2 separate regions of the Homo sapiens genome follow, and region 1 is linked to region 2. The links are contacts of gene promoters, found by promoter capture Hi-C in blood cells and fetal thymus (Javierre and others, 2016). All regions are on one chromosome and are shown on one strand. The core of a region is centred on a gene start or on the middle of the fragment in contact, and the rest is flanking DNA. Distances in the headings are between cores, read along the strand shown.

What was found. The method cuts DNA at HindIII sites, captures the fragments that hold promoters and counts their contacts. A CHiCAGO score of 5 or more calls a contact.
Region 1: a fragment that was not itself captured here is called in contact with the fragment with the promoter of PTX4 in region 2 in 1 of 17 cell types (endothelial precursors); the score reaches 5.0 in endothelial precursors.

The regions. Positions count from the first base shown.
Region 1 is chr16:1,743,873-1,748,176 of GRCh38, forward strand. It overlaps MAPK8IP3 (mitogen-activated protein kinase 8 interacting protein 3), which reads left to right. Exons shown (of 32, transcript NM_001318852.2): 6 at 3,157-3,403. Among named protein-coding and RNA genes, the nearest start is that of MIR3177, 11 kb to the left of the region's middle. The HindIII fragment of the contact is 4,285 bases long and covers 469-4,304 here.
Region 2 is chr16:1,486,594-1,490,306 of GRCh38, forward strand. PTX4 (pentraxin 4) reads right to left here and starts at 2,351. Exons shown (of 3, transcript NM_001328608.2): 1 at 2,176-2,351; 2 at 723-1,377. The coding sequence starts at 2,316. The HindIII fragment of the contact is 1,633 bases long and covers 902-2,534 here.

The sequences.
Region 1 (4,304 bases), core at 1,361-3,860, 260 kb after region 2:
GCCTCTACTCTCGGAGGAACGTCAGTGTCTAGAGTGTGGGGTTTGCCCTCCGTTGGCAGAAAGGTGAGGAGAAAGCTCCTCTTCTCTGGGCCCCTCCCTGCCTGTCCCTGGTAACGCCTCCTGGGTCCTGAGTTTGAGAAAGCAGAGCCTCGCCCCAGCAGGTACTCACAGCCAGAGTGCGGGGGCCCCAGCAGGTTCTCACAGCCAGCCGGTGAGTGCACCTCAGAGCACAGGGGCCCAGAGCCAGGCCACTCCTTCAGGGCCCCAGGTCGCTTGCTGCCAGTTTTGGCCTGTGAGCTCACTGGCCTCAGTGCCAGGTAAGGACAGCCACCTTCCTGGGAAGAAGAGGTGACCCCGGGTCTGGTGGATTTCCCACAGGGGCCGTCAGAGGATGTCCACAGAGGCAGAGCCCTTGGGGCCTGTGGGCTGGGTTGGGCTGGTGGATGTGGGGCCTGGGACTTCTCCAGAAGCTTACTTCCTGCTGCATGCTTTGCCGACTGTCCTTCCACCTCTAAGTGTCCATCGTGCCTGTGGGGGCTGCTGCAGGCTCCTGCTCCGTCAGCCCACCTGCTGCTGCGCTGCTCTGGGAGCGAGCTCCCTCATGGCATCTGGAACGCTCTCCTGTCCTCCCTGTGCTCAGGGCTGGAGAGAGGGTGGCGGGGCTGCGGGCTCCCCGGGCCTTCTGGGCCCAGCCCTGCCACCTGGGCCCACCTCCTCTCACTGTCTCTGGCTCACGCTTCCCGGGCCTGGAGCTGGGACCTGCCCATAGGCATCTGAAGACACGTCAGCCTCAGCCGGGGGGAGCCCTTGCTTGACGCTCTCTGGCCTCCGGGCTGCCTCTCGCGCCCGCTCTGGGCCCGCTCTTCTTCTCATGATGTCTTTCCTTTCACCTCCTGCGTTGTCTGACATCGTCGCTCTCTTCATAAATTGTAGCGTTTTATGTTTTCGTTCATAGGAGTGTTTTATTTGATTTTTCTTTATTTTAAATTATTACATTTAAGTTCTTTTTATTTTATGCTCTAGGTTTTGAAGTTTTTCTAATTTCTTAATTTTTTTGTTGTTTTTTGTTTTGTTTTGTTTTTGTTTTTATGTACTGTATTTTCAGTGTTTTAACCAAACAGTTGTGGCTACTCATGGTGAGGAATGACCGCTAAGAGTTTGGGTTCTTTCAGTGCATTTGGAGGTCACTGCTACACGTTGATGTTTAGGAGGTTGAGAGGTTTGCCTTTAGGTAAGTTGTGGCCAGGGGGAGTGTCCCATGGGTAAGTGGTGGCCCTGTAGGGTGACGGAGAGCTAGGGGAGGCGCAATCAGACTGCAGAATTCCCCGCAGCCACCATGAGGGTCAGGAGCAGGCCGGGGACCCAGCGTGGAGGAAGGTGGCCCAGAAGCGTTTGTCTGATGTGCACAGCTACACCCTGCCTGGCCACATGGGGTTCCCTGTTTTCTCTCTGCCGGGTGGTGGCAGAGTCGGTGAGACACCAGGTGCCTGTGACACATTGGGTAGACAGGTTCTTTGAGAACGTCAGCACAGACTTCTTGCATGAGCGGTACTCGCTTCCTCCAGCGTGGGGAGTGACATGAAGAGCAAGGGTTTTCCTTTCAAACTGGGCATAGCTGCAGAGCCACAGGCCGTCTCAGACATTTCTACAAAGCCACTCCGGGAGGCGGGCTGCGCCCGTGTGAGGGCTCTCCCTCGGCACTGCTCATCTTTTGGGGCTGGACATGCATGGCCTGGGCCGCTGGGACGCGGTGGGTGTGGAGCAGCATCCCTGGCTTCCACCCACGAAAGCCAGGAGCACCCCCTTCATTTGTGACCACAAAAATGTCTCTGGACTTTGCAAGCATCCCCTCGGGGCAGTCAGCCCAACTGAGAATAGCTACTATAGAGGAAGGTGTGTCATTTTGAGATTCCTTCTAGAGAAACTTAGGAGCCTGGTAGATGAAGCAGAAATGTGTCCTCTGAGTGAGTGGCCGTGTCCGGTACTGAGAGGCCCCGTGCCCTGAGTCTGGCGGTGACCAGAGAGGCTGGGCAGAGGCAGAGGTCAGCACTGGCCATGACTTCTGGAAGTCCCGTCTGCCCTGGTCACTTAAAGGCCAGTATAAGTCAGCTGTGGAGAGGGCTGGATACCCCCTCGACAGCTCCTCCCTGGGTGAGATCCTTAGCATTAGAGTCCCCCACGGTGCGCCCTCTGAGAGACCACGGGAACCCACCCAGCGGCTGCCTGGGACAGGCACAGGAGCCACCTGGGTGCCTCTGAGGCCTTGCACTTTCCCACACCTCAAGGAGGGCCGGGGGCCACGGGCAAGCTCTGCCATAGCGGGTGATCAGGTCAGCTAAGACGAGAACGTTTGGGGCTCTTTTTCTCCAGCTGGTTCAGTATCTTTGTTAGGAAAGACCATTGGAAAGAATGTTTGTTTCGCATTCCGCATTAGTCACATAGAATGCGCTCCTCCCTAGCGAGCTTCCTGAGGTAGACGGCTGGTTGCGGTTTCTCGTAATCCGGGCTGCCCCCACCCTCCAGAATGTCTTGGTGGCGTCCCTTTCTGTGAGCAGGGATTGTGGTTTCTTTGCGCTTGCTCATGTTCAGGGGTGAGCTCTGGTCCAGTCAAGCCACAGGGTCAGCACCTTCTGGTCACTCCCTGGCCCTGACCTGAGCCCGGGGAGGAACGTGGGGCAGGCGCGGGTGGGCCCAGCCTCGAGCTCTTCAGCACAGTGATGGTGACGGGGCAGCGGTGGCGGCACAGCCAGCCCTTCTTGGGTCCCCAGTCAGAGCCCTCTGCCCTACCTGGGCTGGACTTGTTTCTGAACAGCCACAAGCTACAGGGGGCTGCCGCTGTGTCCCTGGCGAGGCACTGGCCCATTACAAGCAATCGTCTGGGGAGGGCACCAGTGGAAAGCCCCGTTCCAAGCCATTTCAGGAGGGTGGCCCTGCTTCCGAGGAGCCGGAGTCAGTGGCCGGATAAGCAGAGCCACTCGGGAGTGGTGAGGCCCGGAAGGGTTAGCCCGGTGGGCGGCAGAGGAGCTCTGGCCCGCAGGGTGTCGGGCGAGGCAAAGTGCAAAGCATTGGTGCGCGGGGCCTCAGGCAGCCACGGCGGAGCCGCAGGCCAGGGACCTGCAGTGACTCGCTCTCCCTCCTCCCTGTGTTTGGCCTTAGTGTCCACAGGATGAAATGTCCGAGTCAGGCCAGTCCTCGGCGGCCGCCACACCCAGCACCACAGGCACCAAGTCCAACACGCCCACATCCTCCGTGCCCTCGGCCGCCGTCACACCCCTCAACGAGAGCCTGCAGCCCCTGGGGGACTATGGCGTGGGCTCCAAGAACAGCAAGCGTGCCCGGGAGAAGCGCGACAGCCGCAACATGGAAGTACAGGTCACCCAGGAGATGCGCAACGTCAGTATAGGTGGGTGCCCACCTCCGGGACTCTGGGCTCCCTCGGGCAGGAGGCAGGGCTTGGTTTGGGTAGATGTGAAACTAATGCACCAGGCGGGCAGTGCAGGCAGCAGAGACGTGTTCCTCACAGCCCGGAGGCTGGGGTCCAAGATCAAGGCGCTGGCAGGGTAGGTTCCTCCTGCGGCCACTCCTTGGCTTGTAGACACCACCTTCTCCCTGTGTCCTCAACAGGCATCCCCTGGGTGTGTCTGTGTCCTCATCTCCAGCTCCTACAAGGACATAGCCCCATTGGATTAGAGCCACCACGTGACCTCATTTTACCATAATCACCTCTTGAAAGGCCCAGCCTCCAAATACAGTCATGCTAGGGGGTATCTATTAACATATGGATTTGGGGAGACACAACTAAGGCAGTAGCCTGCGTCACCCCACGGCACACAGCCCCACTAACCAGTAACCTGCATCGCCCCACGGCACACAGCCCCACTAACCAGTAACCTGCATCGCCCCACGGCACACAGCCCCACTAACCAGTAACCTGCATCGCCCCACGGCACACAGTCCCACTAACCAGTAGCCTACGTCACCCCATGGCACACAGCCCCACTAACCAGTAACCTGCGTTGCCCCACGGCACACAGGCCAGTGAGGGAAAGAGAAGAGGGGAATGAGGGCCGAGAGGAGGTCCAGCCACTGGCTTGCTTGGACGTGGGATCTCTGGGGACTGGGCTTACTGCTGACACTCCCATGCAGAGAGGCTGCTGCAACCCACCCCGCTCCAGGCCCCGCCTCAGACGTCTACTGTGCTGGGGTTCGACCTCTGCCCAGTCAGCCTGGGAAGAGCTGTTTTCTGATCATCCCCACCTAGCAGGTGGTCCAGCTCCAGCCCACCAGACTCAGGTTCCGAGGGC
Region 2 (3,713 bases), core at 1,101-3,600:
GGGAGGGTCAACCCCTTGCAGGAGGCCGAGCAGAAGCATCCAGAAGCACACGTGCTGTGGGTGCCTGGCCTCCCACTCCCGGCTGCCACCCTTCACGGAGCACTGACTCTGCGCTGGCCCTGCCGATGGCTCCCCTGCAGCGTCTCCTTCACTCTCTTGATGGGATCACCCCAGTTCCACAGGCGGGAAGACTGAACATGAGGGCCGTACTCGGGAGTGGCGGGGTCCTGCTAGGAGCCCTAGCTGTCGGCCCACCCAGCTGAGCCAGCGCCCCTCACTGCCAGGGAGTCTCTGCAAATTTCATGACTCACAACAGCGCAGGTTTAGTGTTTCACATTTCTGGCGGTCACAAGGCCAACACGGTCTCCCAGGGCTCAAATCAGGTGTGGACAGGGCTGGTTCCTCTGGAGGCTCCAGGAGAAACCATCTCCCGCCCTTTCCAGCTTCCAGAGGCGCCTGCACCCTTCGGCGTGGGGCCTCCTCGTCTGTGCATCCCGCCACCTCTGCTTCTGCCCTCACGCCCTCCTCTGACTGTGTTCCTCCTGCCTCCCCTTAGAAAGCCTCTGTGATGACGGTGGGCCACCCCCCCCGATGATCCGAGACCCTCTCCCCATCTCCCGGCCCCTAACTGAACCTCTTTTGAGAAGCCTTTTCCAGGGGGCCTGGTCTAAGGAGGAGCTGGAGGGAAGCCTGGCCGTGAGCTGGGAGCCTGTGGTACTTACTCTCTCCTGGCACCTGGGGGGACCATGCCTGCTGCCGAGGGTCTTTTGGGGCAGTCCCACTGAGTACCCGATGGCTGCCTGAGGCTGGAGGCTCCCGCCTCCCTTGGAGAGGGGCCGAGGAGTCCTGTGGGGGGCCCCTGTGCTCAGAGGCAGCTCGGAGCTCCTGCCTGTCCCTCTGAAGCTTCAGGGAGGTCGGGCCCAGCTCCTCAGGCTGGGTTGGGGTTGGGACCAGGGCCGGCCCGAGGGCTGCAGTGCCAGGGTGGGCCACGGGCAGCCGCCCCTCCAGAGCAGCCAGCCTGGCGCCCTGGCTGTGGACGAGGCCCTCCAGGCGTGCCAGTGAGTCCTGCAGGGCGTCCCTCTGGGCCTTGTGTGCCTTCCTTTCCCGGGCCCGCTGCTGGCTCCTCTCGCCCAGGGTGAGGTCCAAGGCCCGCAGCCGCGTGTCTACTTTCCGGCCTCGGCGCTGCAGCTTCCTCACCCAGGCCTTGAGCTGCGCCAGCTCCCCCTGCACCGAGGCCTGTGACCGGTTGACTGCCTGAGCCACAGCCTGGCTCTCTTCCGCCAGGCTCCGGAACCGGACGTCAACGTTGTAGGACACGTTGTAGTTGCTGGCGATGTTCTGCAGGTGTGTCCAGGTCACCTCCTGGAATCTCCGGAACTGTAAGGAGGACACGGTGATGATGGGGCGGGCCGGGCCGGGCCGGCTGGGCGGGACGGGAAAGGCTTTGCCCTCTCAAGTTGGGAGCAGCGGCCGCGTGCCCGGGCCACGGCCAGCACTGGCTATCTGCCCACCGATTTGATCCCCACTGCGATGCCGTGAGATGTGGTGGGTGCCAGGGACTGACCCCAGGCCATGCAGCTGCACCACGTGGGGTGTGGACTCCAGGCCCACAGCTGGGGCTCTGATCCCCACCGCTCACCCCATAACCACCGGCAAGTCACTTTCCCTCGTGATTCCAGCTCCTGCCTGTGAGCAGGGGACGGCAGGGTGGCCTCATGAGTGCTTTACGAGGCCCAAACAGGAAGCACCCAGCGCAGGCCCGACAGGCCCACAGCACTCCGGAACTGTCCGTGGACCCCGCGTGGGAGTCCGGGAGGCCGTTCACACCGACTGCCACAAGGTGGACCTGTGACCTCCCAGTTTCCACTCCCCATGACACTACCCGGCCCCCATGGCCCCCAGTTCCCCTGACTCCCTTCCAGACCCCCTTCTAGCCTCTGGCCCCACCTGACCCCCACATGTTATGAGGCTTGTGTCCTGTGTGAGTGGAGCCCAGCTCAGCTCTTCCCTGGTGTCCAACTGCAGGTGAAATAATCTTCATGGATGGAAAGAGCGTCACACGCGGTGTTCGTGTCCGCCAAGCCCTGATGTTTACCAATCTGCTTCTGTAACATCCGTCTTCCATCTGCTGCCAATTTAAAAACCCGACTGCGCCATGTCAGGGGTATAACTTGCCTGTTCCTCCAGCCTACGGAGCCTCTCGAAAAACGGTTTCCTGGGCCCCACTGGGGCGGCTTCCTGCGATGAAGCCCCATGTAGATATATAGGCACAAAAACAAGGAAGAAAGACAAGGTCTTCCTCCACGAGCAACCCATCCGGAGAGACGGCAAGGCCCCAGCAGTCTCCCTCCAGCCGCAGGAGAGGGTGAAGGTGGCTCCGTGGGTCTGTCTTGTGTCTCGTCCCCCCAGCTCTCCTGTTGAGTGGTTTTCCTTCTTTGGCCCTGGCTGGATGTCAGGTTCTTCCTGCCGCCTCCATGAAAGGCATCTGCCTTCAAGCCAGTGGGCTCTGAGACTTGCAGGTTCCTAAGGAGACAAGCTTAAAACAGATGCAAACAGTTTCTTTGAAGAATCATTCAGCTGGGTGCAAGCCCGCGGGCAGGAGGCGATGGCTTTAACAGGAGCACATGGACTTGTGCTCCCGAGAAGTCGAAGCAAGACAGGGAACCCGACGGGGGCTGGGGAGTCAACAGAGCCAGGTCTGCACAGGCACCCATCACCCAGGCCGTGCACGGCTGCATCCTGGGAGGCCCCGTCTCTCTCAGTAAAGCAATGGAAATGTGACTGGGAGCCACCTTAATTAATTAATTATTATTATTATTTGAGATGGAGTCTCGTTCTGTTGCCTAGGCTAGAGTGCAATGGCGCAATCTCAGCTCACTGCAACCTCTGCCTCCCCGGCTCAAGCGATTCTCCTTCCTCAGCCTCCTGCCTCCTGAGGAGCTGGGATTACAGGCGTGCTTTACCATGCCCGGCTAATTTTAGTATTTTTAGTAGAGATGGGGTTTCACTATGTTGGTCAGGCTGGTCTCAAACTTCTGACCTCATGATTTGCCTGCCTCAGCCTCCCTAAGTGTTCGGATTACAGGCATGAGCCACTGCGCCTGGCCAATTAATTAATTTTTTTGACGGAGTCTTGCTCTGTCACCCAGGCTGGAGTGCAGTGGTGCGATCTCCGCTCACCACAAGCTCCGCCTCCTGGGTTTAACGGATTCTCCTGTCTCAGCCTCCCAAGTAGCTGGGATTACAGGTATGTGCCCCCACATCCGGCTAATTTTTGTATTTTTAGTAGAGACGGGGTTTCACCATGTGGGCCAGGCTGGTCTCAAACTCCCGACCTCAGGTGATCCACCCGCTGTAGCCTCCCGAAATGCTGGGATTACAGGCATGAGCCACCGCGCCCGGCCAATTTTTGTATTTGTAGTAGAGACGGGGTTGCCCCATGTGGGCCAGGCTGGTATTTTTGGTTACAGGTTGTGTACTGGCTTGAATGAGACCCTCCTAAAAACACACATAAGCCCCAGGCAGGGCCTTATGTGGAAAAGGTCTCTGCGGATGTCATGAAGGATTTTGAGATGAGACCATCCTGGATTATCCAGGTGGCCCTAAAGCCAATGACAGGGGTACAAGAGACAGAGGAGGAGGCACAGAGGACACGGCCTGTGAAGATGGGGCAGAGACTGGGGTGACGCTGCCACGAGGAACCCCCAGAGGCC